3 separate regions of the Homo sapiens genome follow, and all the other regions are linked to region 3. Evidence: promoter capture Hi-C in human tissues and cell types (Jung and others, 2019). All regions are on one chromosome and are shown on one strand. Each heading gives the region's core, a stretch centred on a gene start or on the middle of the fragment in contact. The rest is flanking DNA. Distances are from core to core; before and after follow the strand shown.

What was found. Contacts are between HindIII fragments. The study calls those that stand out against the background at their distance.
Region 1: a contact is called between a fragment that was not itself captured here and the fragment with the promoter of PPDPF in region 3, in 1 of the 25 tissues and cell types used here (pancreas).
Region 2: a contact is called between a fragment that was not itself captured here and the fragment with the promoter of PPDPF in region 3, in 1 of the 25 tissues and cell types used here (spleen).

Annotation. Positions count from the first base shown.
Region 1 is chr20:63,667,713-63,671,972 of GRCh38, forward strand. All of the region lies in intron 8 of RTEL1 (regulator of telomere elongation helicase 1), which reads left to right. The region is part of intron 8 of RTEL1-TNFRSF6B (RTEL1-TNFRSF6B readthrough (NMD candidate)); the gene reads left to right. It overlaps LOC124904954 (a long non-coding RNA gene), which reads right to left. Exons shown (of 2, transcript XR_007067717.1): 2 at 3,644-4,260. Among named protein-coding and RNA genes, the nearest start is that of RTEL1, 12 kb to the left of the region's middle. The HindIII fragment of the contact is 4,863 bases long and covers 1-4,260 here.
Region 2 is chr20:63,774,376-63,778,348 of GRCh38, forward strand. ZBTB46 (zinc finger and BTB domain containing 46) reads right to left here. Exons shown (of 5, transcript NM_001369741.1): 3 at 1,303-1,587. Among named protein-coding and RNA genes, the nearest start is that of ZBTB46-AS1, 32 kb to the right of the region's middle. RefSeq lists an enhancer at 3,545-3,973. The HindIII fragment of the contact is 8,553 bases long and covers 1-3,973 here.
Region 3 is chr20:63,518,143-63,522,309 of GRCh38, forward strand. It overlaps PPDPF (pancreatic progenitor cell differentiation and proliferation factor), which reads left to right and starts at 2,623. Exons shown (of 4, transcript NM_024299.4): 1 at 2,623-2,752; 2 at 3,142-3,221; 3 at 3,370-3,447; 4 at 3,526-4,064. The coding sequence starts at 3,167. The coding sequence ends at 3,737. LOC102723814 (a long non-coding RNA gene) reads right to left here and starts at 2,531. Exons shown (of 2, transcript XR_430332.4): 1 at 330-2,531. RefSeq lists enhancers at 2-879, 880-1,756, 1,757-2,633 and silencers at 1,906-2,155, 2,216-2,765, 2,876-3,075. The HindIII fragment of the contact is 19,807 bases long and covers 1-4,167 here.

The DNA.
Region 1 (4,260 bases), core at 624-3,123, 150 kb after region 3:
CACACTTGTGAGCAGCCCCAGGCCACAGGTCAGTTTTCTGAGCAGTCTGGGAGCGGGCAGGCTGGTGGGAGTGAGGAGAGACCTCCAGGCTGTGGTCCATAGGCCAGTGCCCGCTCTTGATCCTGACAGCTCAGGTTCTCTCCTTCACGTCAGGCCATGGGAGGCACCGAGAACACAGGAAGCCCACTGACTCCCCTCTTCCCAGCGCGTGCCCGGCCCCACACTCACTCCCCCTCCCAGCATGTGCCCGGCTTCACACTCACTCCCCTCTTCCCAGTGCATGCCCGGCCCCACACTCACTCCCCCCACAGCATGTGCCCGGCCTGACACTCACTCCCCTCCTCCCAGTGTGTGCCCAGCCCCACTCCCTTCCGCCCCGTGTGCCCAGCCCCACGCTCACTCCCCCCGCCAGCATGTGCCCGGCCCCACACTCAACTCCCCTCCTCCCAGTGTGTGCCCGGCCCTGCTGCCCTCCTCCCCATGTGCCCTGCTTTTGTGCCCCACACTTTTTACTTAGTGCAGGTGGGATCACACGCCACGGGTCAATGGTTTGTGTGTTCACGTGACGATGGCGTGGTGACGTTTCCAGATCCCGTCGTTGGTTCGCTCATTCTCGGGGTGTATATTTATTGAGAGCTCATCATGCTGGGTGCTATTCCAGGCATAGCAAGACTGGCTTCACTCACATGGAGCTTTGATTCTAGTGGTGGGGACAGGTGGACAGCAAAAGAGTAAGCACGTGAGCTGATGATACTGAAGGGAAATAGAGCAGAGGGAGGAGGCGGAGACCGAGCCAAGCGGGCCCAAGTGCGATGTCGGCGGGAGGTGGGGAATGCTGGTGGGTCTGAGGGGAGCCTCAGCAGGTGCAGCAGAGCAAGGGAAGAGGTGAGTGGGGGCGGCTGGGGGGCCGACTCCTGGGAAGCTGTAGCAGAACCCCACAGAGAGCTGGTGAGGTTTGCCGTGGTTGTGGGTGACTCGGTGCTTTGAGCCCTGGCTGCCCCTGGGAACCATCTGGAGAGCTTCTAACCCAACCAGGCCCCTCCCTGGGACAGTTATATCACAGCTGGTAAGCCGAGTCTAACACTTTCACGGAAACGCAGAAGATCTAAAACAGCAAGATGACCGTGAAGAAGAACAGAGCTGGAGGACTCACCTCGCTGGTTTCAAGACTCCTCTAAAGCTGCAGGAGTGGAGGTGGAGATGGCCCAGCTCAGGCACAGGCCTGCAGGCCATGGAGAAGGCAGCAAGCTCAAGCTGACCCACACGCATGTGGTCATTGTTTTTTTTTTCAGTTGGAATCTCACTCTGTCACCCAGGTTGGAGTGCAGTGGCACCATCTCGGCTCACTGCAGCCCCCGCCCCTAGGTTCTAGCGATTCTCCCACATCAGCCTCCCGAGTAGCTGGGATTACAGGCGTGCGCCACCATGCCTGGCCCTTGGTGATTGTTTTTTGACAAACATGCCAATTTAATTGAGAGAGGAAATGAAGGTTGATTTCTGGTTTTCTGAAAAAATGGTGCTAAGAACAGCTGGATATCTGTTCGGAAAACAGTGAATCTTAACTCTTGTTTTACCCTGTATAAACCTAAATGTAAAAGCTAAACTAAAAGTTATAGAAAGGAACATGGGGGAGGTCTTTGCAACTTTGGGGTAGGCAGAGATTTCTTAGTATGGATACACAAGGCACTAGCCATGAAGAAAAACATTAAAATTTAGACTTCACCAAAATTTAAAGCTTCAACTCTGTGGAAGAGTTGAGAAAATGAAAAAGCAGTTAAAGAAAGGGAGAAAATACTTCTTTCAAAGGACTTAAAAAATTTTTTCAGCCCTCCTCTGATTTGAAAGGACCTTTGACCAGAGTATGTAAAATTCTCCCATAACTAAGCAAACAACCCACTTAACCACTGGGAAGGGATCTGGACAGACGTTTCACCAAGATGGGTGGAATGGCCAGTTAACCACTGGGAGAGCATCCGGACAGACGTTTCGCCAAGATGGGTGGAATGGCCAGTTAACCACTGGGAGAGCATCCGGACAGACGTTTCGCCAAGATGGGTGGAATGGCCAGTTAACCACTGGGAGAGCATCCGGACAGACGTTTCGCCAAGATGGGTGGAATGGCCAGTTAACCACTGGGAGAGCATCCGGACAGACGTTTCGCCAAGATGGGTGGAATGGCCAGTTAACCACTGGGAGAGCATCCGGACAGACGTTTCGCCAAGATGGGTGGAATGGCCAGTTAACCACTGGGAGAGCATCCGGACAGACGTTTCGCCAAGATGGGTGGAATGGCCAGTTAACCACTGGGAGAGCATCCGGACAGACGTTTCGCCAAGATGGGTGGAATGGCCAGTTAACCACTGGGAGAGCATCCGGACAGACGTTTCGCCAAGATGGGTGGAATGGCCAGTTAACCACTGGGAGAGCATCCGGACAGACGTTTCGCCAAGATGGGTGGAATGGCCAGTTAACCACTGGGAGAGCATCCGGACAGACGTTTCGCCAAGATGGGTGGAATGGCCAGTTAACCACTGGGAGAGCATCCGGACAGACGTTTCGCCAAGATGGGTGGAATGGCCAGTTAACCACTGGGAGAGCATCCGGACAGACGTTTCGCCAAGATGGGTGGAATGGCCAGTTAACCACTGGGAGAGCATCCGGACAGACGTTTCGCCAAGATGGGTGGAATGGCCAGTTAACCACTGGGAGAGCATCCGGACAGACGTTTCACCAAGGTGGATGGAATGACCAGTTGAGCACATGGAAAGTCGCCCAGCATCTCCAGTCATAGGAGAAGGCAGATTAAAGCCACGGGGAGCCGACACTGTGGTCCCACTGGCATGGCTGAAATTCAGAAGCCCTGAGTGTGGCATGAGGATGTGGAACAGCTGGATCTCATCCATCGCTGTGAAGTTGTGTAGCCACTCCACAAACGTGTGGCAAACAGCCGAGCCGGGAGAAGGGAAGACGTGTTCAAAGATTCATATGTGGCCAGGCTCAGTGGCTCACGCCTGTAATCCCAGAACTTTAGGGGCCAAGGCTGGGGGATCGCTTAAGCCCAGGAGTTTGAGACCAGCCTAGGCAACATAGGGAGACCCCATCTCAAAAAAAAAAAAAAAGAAAAAAGAAAAGACTTCAGTGTGCAGGTTTACCAGAGTTTTGTTTGCAGTTGCCAAAACTGGGAAGCAGCCCGCGTGAGCCCATCCACAGGTGAATGGACAGACCGTGGTACCCGAACACTAACAGCAGCCACGGGCGTGGACTGTGGTCACACAGCAGCAGGGAGCCGATGAGTCTCGGACATGCTAACCCAGAGAGGCCCATTGAGGAGGACCTACTGTTTTTTGTGTTTTTGTTTTTTGTTTTGAAATGGAGTCTCGCTCTGTGGTGCAGGCTGGAGTGCAGTGGTGTGGTCTTGGCTCACTGCAGCTTCCGCCTCTTGGGTTCAAACAGTTCTCCTGCCTCAGCCTTCCGAGTAGCTGGGACTACAGGCACCCGCCACCACACCCGGCTAATTTTTGTATTTTCAGTAGAGACGGCAGTTCGCCATGTTGGCCAGGCTGGTCCCAAACTCCTGACCTTGTCATCCACTCACTTTGGCCTCCCAAAGTGCTGAGGTTGCAGGCATGAACCACCGCACCCGGCTGGACCTACTGTTTTATTCCATTTATGTGACACTCTATTAATAGAAAAGGCAGGGGTGGGGCTGGTGGTTATATGGTGCACATAACTGCCAGAACTCAGTACACTTAAAATGAACATCTTAATGTGTGAAATTTTTTTTTTTGAGACGGGGTCTTGCTCTGTCACCCAGGCTAGAGTGCAGTGGTGCGATCTCCACTCACTGCAAGCTCTGCCTCCTGGGTTCACGCCATTCTCCTGCCTCAGCCTCCCGAGTAGCTGGGACTACAGGCGCCCGCCACCACGCCTGGCTAATTTTTTTTTTTTTTTTGTATTTTTAGTAGAGACGGGGTTTCACAGTGTTCGCCAGGCTGGTCTCGATCTCCTGACCTCGTGATCCGCCTGCCTCGGCCTCCGAAAGTGCTGGGCTTGCAGGCGTGAGCCACCATGCCCGGCCAATGTGTGAAAATTTAAAAGTACCAAAGCTGGACCCCACCCCAGATTGCTCCCATGACACTCTGTGGGTGGGACCTGGGAGTTGGGTTTTGTTTTGTTTTGTTTTGTTTTTGAGATGAAGTCTCACTCTGTCGCCTAGGCTGGAGTGCAGTGACACAATCTCGGCTCACATTAACCTCTGCC
Region 2 (3,973 bases), core at 1,027-3,526, 260 kb after region 3:
AACAGAGAAACAGATATACTTCCCAAATCCCAGCATCAAGGACAGCTGGCACGTTTCCTTCCTTCACTTCCCTCAATACTCAGCAAACAATGTGTCCACACCACTCAGCACGCCTGGACCCCAGCCGCGGAGGTGGGGGCATCTCATGCCGGACTCGCTCCCTCCTCCCCTGGAGAGAAACGGGAGGCGCCTCACTCACTCTCAGCCGCATGCTGAGTGCCAGCTATGTGCTAGGTGCCAGCACCAGGCCTTGCCCGGGGGCCCACATGAGCGCGAGACCAGAAGGCAGCTGGCTGGGGGCTGGCTGCGGTGGGTTTTTTTTGTTTTTTTTTTTGTTTTTTTTTTTGAGACAGAGTCTCCCTCTGTCGCCCCGGCTGGAGTGCAGTGGCGCGATCTCGGCTCACTGCAAGCTCTGCCTGCCGGGTTCACGCCATTCTCCTGCCTCAGTCTCCCGAGTAGCTGGGACTACAGGCGCCCGCCACCACGCCCGGCTAATTTTTTGTATTTTTAGTAGAGACGGGGTTTCACCGTGTTGGCCAAGATGGTCTCGATCTCCTGACCTCGTGGTCTGCCCGCCTCAGCCTCCCAAAGTGCTGGGATTGCAGGCGTGAGCCACCGCGCCCGGCCCCTTTGTTTTTTTAAACTCCGAAAGCTGAATGCCCCCGTCTTGTCAGGAAGTCAGTCAGTCTGGGGTGAGCCCGACACGCAGCAGTGGCTGAACTTTTGGCCACATCTCGGCAGGCGCGTCGTCGTTTGGATTCAGCTGGGGACATTTACGTTTTAAAGACAACCTCCGACGCATCTTTAAAAGTCACACGCCACCAGCATCATCCAGCGAAGGCAACGCAAGGCGAGGCCCCCAAGTGCAATCGGCTCGCAGCGGCCGCCCCCATCTCCCTTGCGCGAAACGAGCCTCAGCACGAAGGCGACAGAGGGGCCGGCAGGGGGCGCCCGAGCCCGTCTCTGGAGCACAAAGACCCCCGGCCCCTGCGCGACCCGGACGAGCTCGCATTCAGCCAACGACTCCTGTGAGAAACATTCCAGCAAGCACTCGGCTGCTCCCCTGCCCGCCGCGCTCACAACCGCGTCCATTCCCTCCTCACTCTAAAGCCAGCCCCCCGTGCACCTGAGAGGCCAGTCCAGGCTGTGACGCCGCATCCTCACCTCCCGCAACAGGGAGGTCAGCAGGCGGCCGAGCAGCAGGGACAGACCCTCAGCCTCATCTCATCTTGGCCCGGGACCTGCAACCCTCAGCCTTCAAAACCACACCAAAGCCAAGCGGCCCCCAGGGCCTGCACTTACGGGACAGCGAGTGGGCCCCTCTGGGCAGGTACTCGAACAGCAGGGAGCCGTCATCCCCCAGCACGTCGGCCTTCAGCGACAGCAGGCTGTTCTTACTCATGAGCGCCGCGCGCAGGTTGGCCACCGCGGTGGCCTGATGCAGGGCGTCGTCCTTCTCTGGGGTGAGGGGAGGGCCCAGATAGCTGGCTTCTCCTCCCAGGAGACCCTCCTCCACCTGTGCATAGAGCTCGGCCCTCTCTCCTCGGCTGTCGGAGCTGCTGGCTTCGGTGACGGACAGGTCCGCATCTGGGGACAGAGGGACACACGTCAGAAGACACGGGTCGTTCCCAGACTCTCCAAGTGGGACAGGCGACACATTTAGAAGGACAGCGACCAGCTTCTGCCTGAGCTACAGAGCAGCATCAAGTCCAGCCCACCCTGGGAGCCGGGCACCTGCCCCAGCAATGCAGCAGCCTCGGCCCAGCCCGGCCTTTCCTGCCCACCCAGGTCCCATGGCTGCGGTGGAGTCTCAGCCAAGGCTTTGGAGGACGGCTCAACTCAGAACAACGGGGTTGCCCTCCCTGGACGAGGCGCTGCAGACCTGGTACCTGCTCTGCTCCAGGGCCGAGGGCCTGAGAGTCAGAGGCTCCTGGGGCGGCAGTATTTCCATCTCGCAAAGACGAGGAGAGGCTCAAAATGGATCAATGACGTTAGAGCTAAATCTATAAAATTCTTAGAAGAAAATCCGCATGATCTCAGATTTGGCAATAGGTTCTTAGATACAAAACCAAGCACAAGCAACAAAATAAATTGGACTCATCAAAATTAAATGTCTGTGCTTCAAAGGATACTACCAAGAAAGTGACGCCGGGTGCGGTGGCTCAAGCCTGTGATCCCAGCACTCTGGGAGGCCGAGGCGGGCGGATCATCTGAGGTCAGGAGTTCAAGGCCAGCCTGGCCAACATGGTGAAACCCCATCTCTACTAAAAATACAAAAATTAGCCGGGCGTGGTGGCACGTGCCTGTAATCCCAGCTACTCAGTAGGCTGCGGCAGGAGAATCGCTTGAACCCAGGAGGTGGAGGTTGCAATGAGCCGAGATCACACCACTGCACTCTAGCCTGGGCGACAGAACAACGCTCTGTCTCAAAAAAAAAAAAAAATTGCAACCTATATATCTGATAATAAAAAGGCAAATACTGTAACTCAATATAAAAATGGGCAAAAAATCTTACTAGACATTTGTCCAAAGAAGATGTATAAATGGCCAAGACGCACAGGAAGAGATGCTCAGCATCACCCATCACTAAGGAAACGCAAAACACAACACGATTCCACCACACAATACGGTTCCAGCACACGCCACGGTTCCACCACACGCCACGGTTCCACCACACGCCACGGTTCCAGCACACGCCACGGTTCCACCACACGCCACGGTTCCAGCACACGCCACGGTTCCACCACACGCCACGGTTCCAGCACACGCCACGGTTCCAGCACACACCCACTGGGATGGCTGGATATAAAAAGGCCAGGCACCGTGGCTCACGCTTCCAGTCCCAACATTTTGGGAGGCTAAGACCGGAAGATCTATTGAGAACAGGAGTTCAAGACCAGCCTGGGCAACACAGCAGGACAAAAAGTTAAAATAAAACAAAATTAGCTGAGTGTGGTGGGTTGTGCCTGTGGTCCTAGCTACTCAGGAGGCTGCGGCGGGAGGATCACTTGAGCCTGAGAGGTTGAGGCTGTGGTGAGCTGTGATCGAGCCACTGTACTCCAGTCTGGGTGACAGAGTGAGACCCTATCTCAAAAACAACAACAAAAAAGATCAGATAATATTGGCAAGGATGGGAAGAAATCAGAACCCTGGAACCTTGCTGGTAAGAGTGTAACATGGTGCCCTCCTGCGGAGCAGGTCGGCAGGTCCTCACAACATCAGGTACAGGAATCACCACGGGGCCCAGCAGTTCCACATGTACGCATGCAGATACCCACGAGAAATGAAGACACAAAAGCTCACAGAAAACCTCGTCCAGGACGCGCGTAGCACGTTATCCATAACAGCCAAAAGGTGGAACAGCCAACAAGTCCATCGATGGACGAATGGATAAACATAACAGGTCCATCCCCACAATGGAATATTATGTGGCCATGAAAAGGCATGAAGAACAGACACAGGCCACCACACAGAGGAGCCGTGAAAACATGCTCAGCGGACGAAGCCAGACACAGAACCACGCAGAGGAGCCTTGAAAACTGCTGAGTGAACAAAGCCAGACACAGAAGGCCACATGCCATTTCATTTCCATTAAATATCCAGAACAGGCAAATCAAGACAGAAAGTAGGTTTGTGGCTGCAAAAAGGGGCTGGGGAGGGGTCTCGGATGAGGGCTAAGTGGTGCAGGGTTTCCCTCTGAGCCGAGGAAAATGTTCTAAGGGGACTGTGCTGATGGCTACAGGATGCTGTGAATATACCATACCAAAAACCTCTGAACTGCAGACTTTAAATGGGTGAGTGGGGTGTGAATCATCTCTCAGTAAAGCTTCTATTTAACAACAACAACAAAAACAACAAAAGGTGACGACTTGAGTCATGAATTCAACGGATTCCTCCGAGTGTCAGCTCAGGCCAGCCAGGGCTTTGTGGAGTACCCTCCCTCTAGTGGGGCTGTATGCACGATATCAAAACA
Region 3 (4,167 bases), core at 1,373-3,872:
TGTGGCCGTCCCCGCCCTCGTCCAGCTGTGCCCTGTCCTCTCCAGCTGACCGTCCCCGTCAATCTCATCCCTGCCAATGATCACATCCTAGCAGCAACCGGGCCTGAACCGGCCTGCTATAGCTTGCGCACAATGCATCTTCCGTCCGCTTAGCTTTTCTGCCCCCATTTCCTACAGCCGGGGAGGCTCGGGTGCAGTGTCTCTCCTCGCTCCTGCTTCCTGACCCAGAGCCCAGACCTGGGACTTCCCAAAAGCCCCCAGACACACCAAGGGCACCGCCGAACCCCTCAGAGCCAAGGGAGAGGAGAGCTAGCGTTCCCTGAGCTCACCTTGCCTGGTGGCACGGGTCCCCTCTGTCTGCGGCCACTGTCATGGGAGAAGCCAGGCTCAGCCACTGGCAAGAGCAGGCAGCCAGCAAGAGGTGGATGTGGGTCCAAGCCCAGGCCACACGGCTCCCAGCAAGAGCCATGGCCAGGGGCCAGTCGGCAGCCCCTCTGCCCGACAAGGATGTGGGCCAGCGTCGTCTGCACTTCAGAGGAGACGAGAACCAGGAGGCGGCCCCCGAGGGCATCCCGCGGGTCCTCACGGAGGCTGCGTTCTCCCACCTTGGCCAGGATGCCCCGGGAACACCATGCAGCGTCTCTGAGGCTTCCTGTGCAGAGGGGCTCACAGAGCCCCCACCGGCCTGGTTTAGTAAATGCAGTTTTTACCTTTTCACTTTAAAGGAAAATGAAAATTCCTCCTTTCAGACGCTCTGTGACTGATGTTGACCGGTGTTGACTGGTGAGGTTGAGAATGAGGTGAGCTGGGTCAGGCCAGCCTAGAGGGAAGCGGGTGACCTGGAAGGCCGTGCTGTCAGGCGTGGTCGGCAGTCGGCCCCACGGCTCCTTCAGGGTGGGCCTGGACCACAGACACCTCACCAGGGTCTCCCGTCCCTGGGCGGCTGCATATGGGTCCAAGCAAGCCACAAAGGCTGTGCCAGCCAAGCCCAACGCAGGCCGCCCCTACAGTCCCTGCCCGGCCCTGCACCCTCCCCACCCCTTCCCAGGTGCTGATCACCAGTACTCACTCTGCACCCCAAACCCCAAACCCCGTCTCAGCGTCTGCCCCTGAGGACCCTCTGAGTGTCAACCCAACTGACCCGTCTGCCTCATCAGTGACCCCTCGGGGCTGCACACCTCTCCCATCGCAGGTCCTGGCACTGCTCTCCGGCACCGAGCTCCCCCTCCCAGGTGGGGCTCAGGCGGTTCCCTGCCCTCCGTCCTTAGACCTCAGCTGAAACCTGAGCTCTCCCCACCACCCGCCCCCGCCAGCCTCTGCACTGCTCCCCACGGGAAGGCCGTTCTCCCTTGGTTTACCGTTCCCTGCGCTTGGCTCGGCCATGTGCACATAGTAGGTGCTTACCACACTCGTGCAATGAACACACAGAGCGGTGCAGGGCCCAGGACAGCGCCTTCCCCACGTGCTCAGGGGGCACAAGGGCGTCCCTCCAAGTCTTGCTCAGGGGCCTCCCAGGGTCCCTGCCCAGCTGTGGGTCCTCACTGAGCACCCGGCGAGGACAGAGTACGGCATCCGTTGGCCTCGATCTCCGGAACAACACGGGCACACGGCCGTCCCAGCCAGCAACGAGAGCCACGAAACAAATCCACCCGGGCTGACTCCCGAAGCCCTCGGACTGTTCCGCCCCACGGACCTCCCGGACCCTCTCTTCCACGGGGAAGACACCGCCCAGCCAGGACCGGGTGTATAAAGAAACGGGATTTCCGTAGGGGCAGGCCGATTTCCCCTGCGGGGCCGAGGGAGGTGTGGGGAGGATTCTGCGCTGGGGGGAGGAGGAGAGGGAGGACGCCTTTCTGCCTGGGAAGGGAAAACGCGCCCCCTCCTGATTGGCATGGCGGGCCGTCCCCCGGGCCCCAGGGCCCTGCCGGGAACGCTCTGGGCTCCCCAAACATGGGGTCTCCGAGCAGTGGGGCCCAGCCTCTGCCTCCGGCGACTGGAGACTCACCTCACCCGCCCAAATCCGCCCCGCTCTCCGACTGGGCCCCGCCTCCCACTGCCCCGCCATCCGCCCACCCTTTCACCGCCCCCTGCGGGCAGCAGGCGCGTCCTGGGGCTGGGCAACCGGGGTGCAGGTTCCGGAGCTGCCAGAGCTGTGAGGGGGACTCGGGAGAGATCCAGGTTCCTCTGGCTGCGAAGTCCCTGGAGGCCGGGCCGGAGGGCTCCGCGCACGTAGCACTTTTTGGCCCGCCCGGCGCCCCCGTCGCCTCCACAAGGGCTGAAGAGGACGGGCGGGCTGGACCAGGCGGGGCTCCGAGACGCGTCCGAGACGGGGGCCTGGGCCCGGGAGAGGGGCGGGGGCTGGGCTCCCGGACCCGGGCGCGGGGCCTTTTAACCCCTGCAGACCCAGGACCGGCCGGGCCGCCCCAAGACGAACGCCGCAGGGCTGGGCTCAGCCCAAGCCAGACGGCGAGAGTCGCACCGAGGTGGAAGCTGGGGGCGCGGCCTCGCCGGGGCCAGGAAAGGGGCGGGGCCGGGTGGGGCCCGGGGAGGAGCCTGTGCGCCCCGCCCTCCGTGACGCGCCGCGGCCCCCGCGCATATAAGTGGGCGCGTCCGCGCGTGCGCACCCCGCGCGCGCCTCTCTGTCGTGGCGCGGCTTCCCGCGGTCTTCTCTGCAAATGGGCTCCGTGGCCTAGCGCCCCCGTCCCCGCCACCCGTGATCGTGCGCCGAGGCCCGCGAGGGGTCGCCGCCCAGGTGAGGGGCGCCGCGCGCGGGTGGGACGAGCAGGCCCGAGGGGCGGGGGGCGAGGGGCGGGGCTGGGCCGGGGGCTCCTCTCCTCTCCGCCTGGCGAGCGCTGGGCTCGGGGTCCCCGGCGGGCTCCTCTCGGGTCGGGCGGGTTGGGACGGCGCCCACCAGGTTCCCGACGTCTGGGCCGGGGCCCCGCGCACAAAGCGCCTTTGTTCCACCCGCTCGGCCGGTTTGGGCTGGTTGGAGCCGCCCGCGCCCCGCGCGGCGAAGGCGGTGCCGGGAGCTGGGGAGCCCCGCCTCGGTAAATAACCCAGCGCGGCGGCTCCACCCGCTGGGGAGCGCCCTTCATGACGGAAGGCCGCTGACCCGAGGGGCTCCTCCACCCCCATGCGCAGATCCCACCAGCCAGCAAGCTAAAGCATGGCGGCCATCCCCTCCAGCGGCTCGCTCGTGGCCACCCACGACTACTACCGGCGTGAGTAGCCCCTGCCCCCCATCCACGCGGATGCTCTGCTGGCGCCAGTGCCGGCCCCGTGCAGGCTGCGGAACCAGCGCTCGGCCTGAAGGCCGGTGGGCTGGGGGGCTCCGCGCCCCGCGTTGCTGACGGGACCTCTCCTCTCCAGGCCGCCTGGGTTCCACTTCCAGCAACAGCTCCTGCAGCAGTACCGAGTGCCCCGGGGAAGCCATTCCCCACCCCCCAGGTGAGTGCAGGATCGCCCCTTTCTCCCCCCGCTCCTCCAGGAGCTGGCAGCATCAAGACCCCACTTCGCTTCTCTCAGGTCTCCCCAAGGCTGACCCGGGTCATTGGTGGGCCAGCTTCTTTTTCGGGAAGTCCACCCTCCCGTTCATGGCCACGGTGTTGGAGTCCGCAGAGCACTCGGAACCTCCCCAGGCCTCCAGCAGCATGACCGCCTGTGGCCTGGCTCGGGACGCCCCGAGGAAGCAGCCCGGCGGTCAGTCCAGCACAGCCAGCGCTGGGCCCCCGTCCTGACCTGAGCGGTTACCACCAGCCCCAGGCCTGCGGAGGCGCTAGTCCACCAGAGCCCCTCCCCGCCCCTCTCCCCACTCCGCATCCCTCGCCCCCCTCCCCACCTCCCACCCCCCACCCTGTAAACTAGGCGGCTGCAGCAAGCAGACCTTCGCATCAACACAGCAGACACCAAAAACCAGTGAGAGCCCCGCTCTCTACCGCCCGGCCCCAGCACTCGCTAGCTTTCCTGACACCTGGAACTGTGCACCTGGCACCAAGCGGAAAATAAACTCCAAGCAGCCAGTAGCCCCGATGGTGTGTGCCTGAGCTGTGTGGCCCGAGGTTCCATTTGAGTGTGAGAAATGGCTGAATCCCTCCCGACCTCACTGCCTTGTGGGGGCTGGCCCTGCTCCCAGGCCTTTCTGGGCCTCCTCACGCTGTGAGGCTGTTG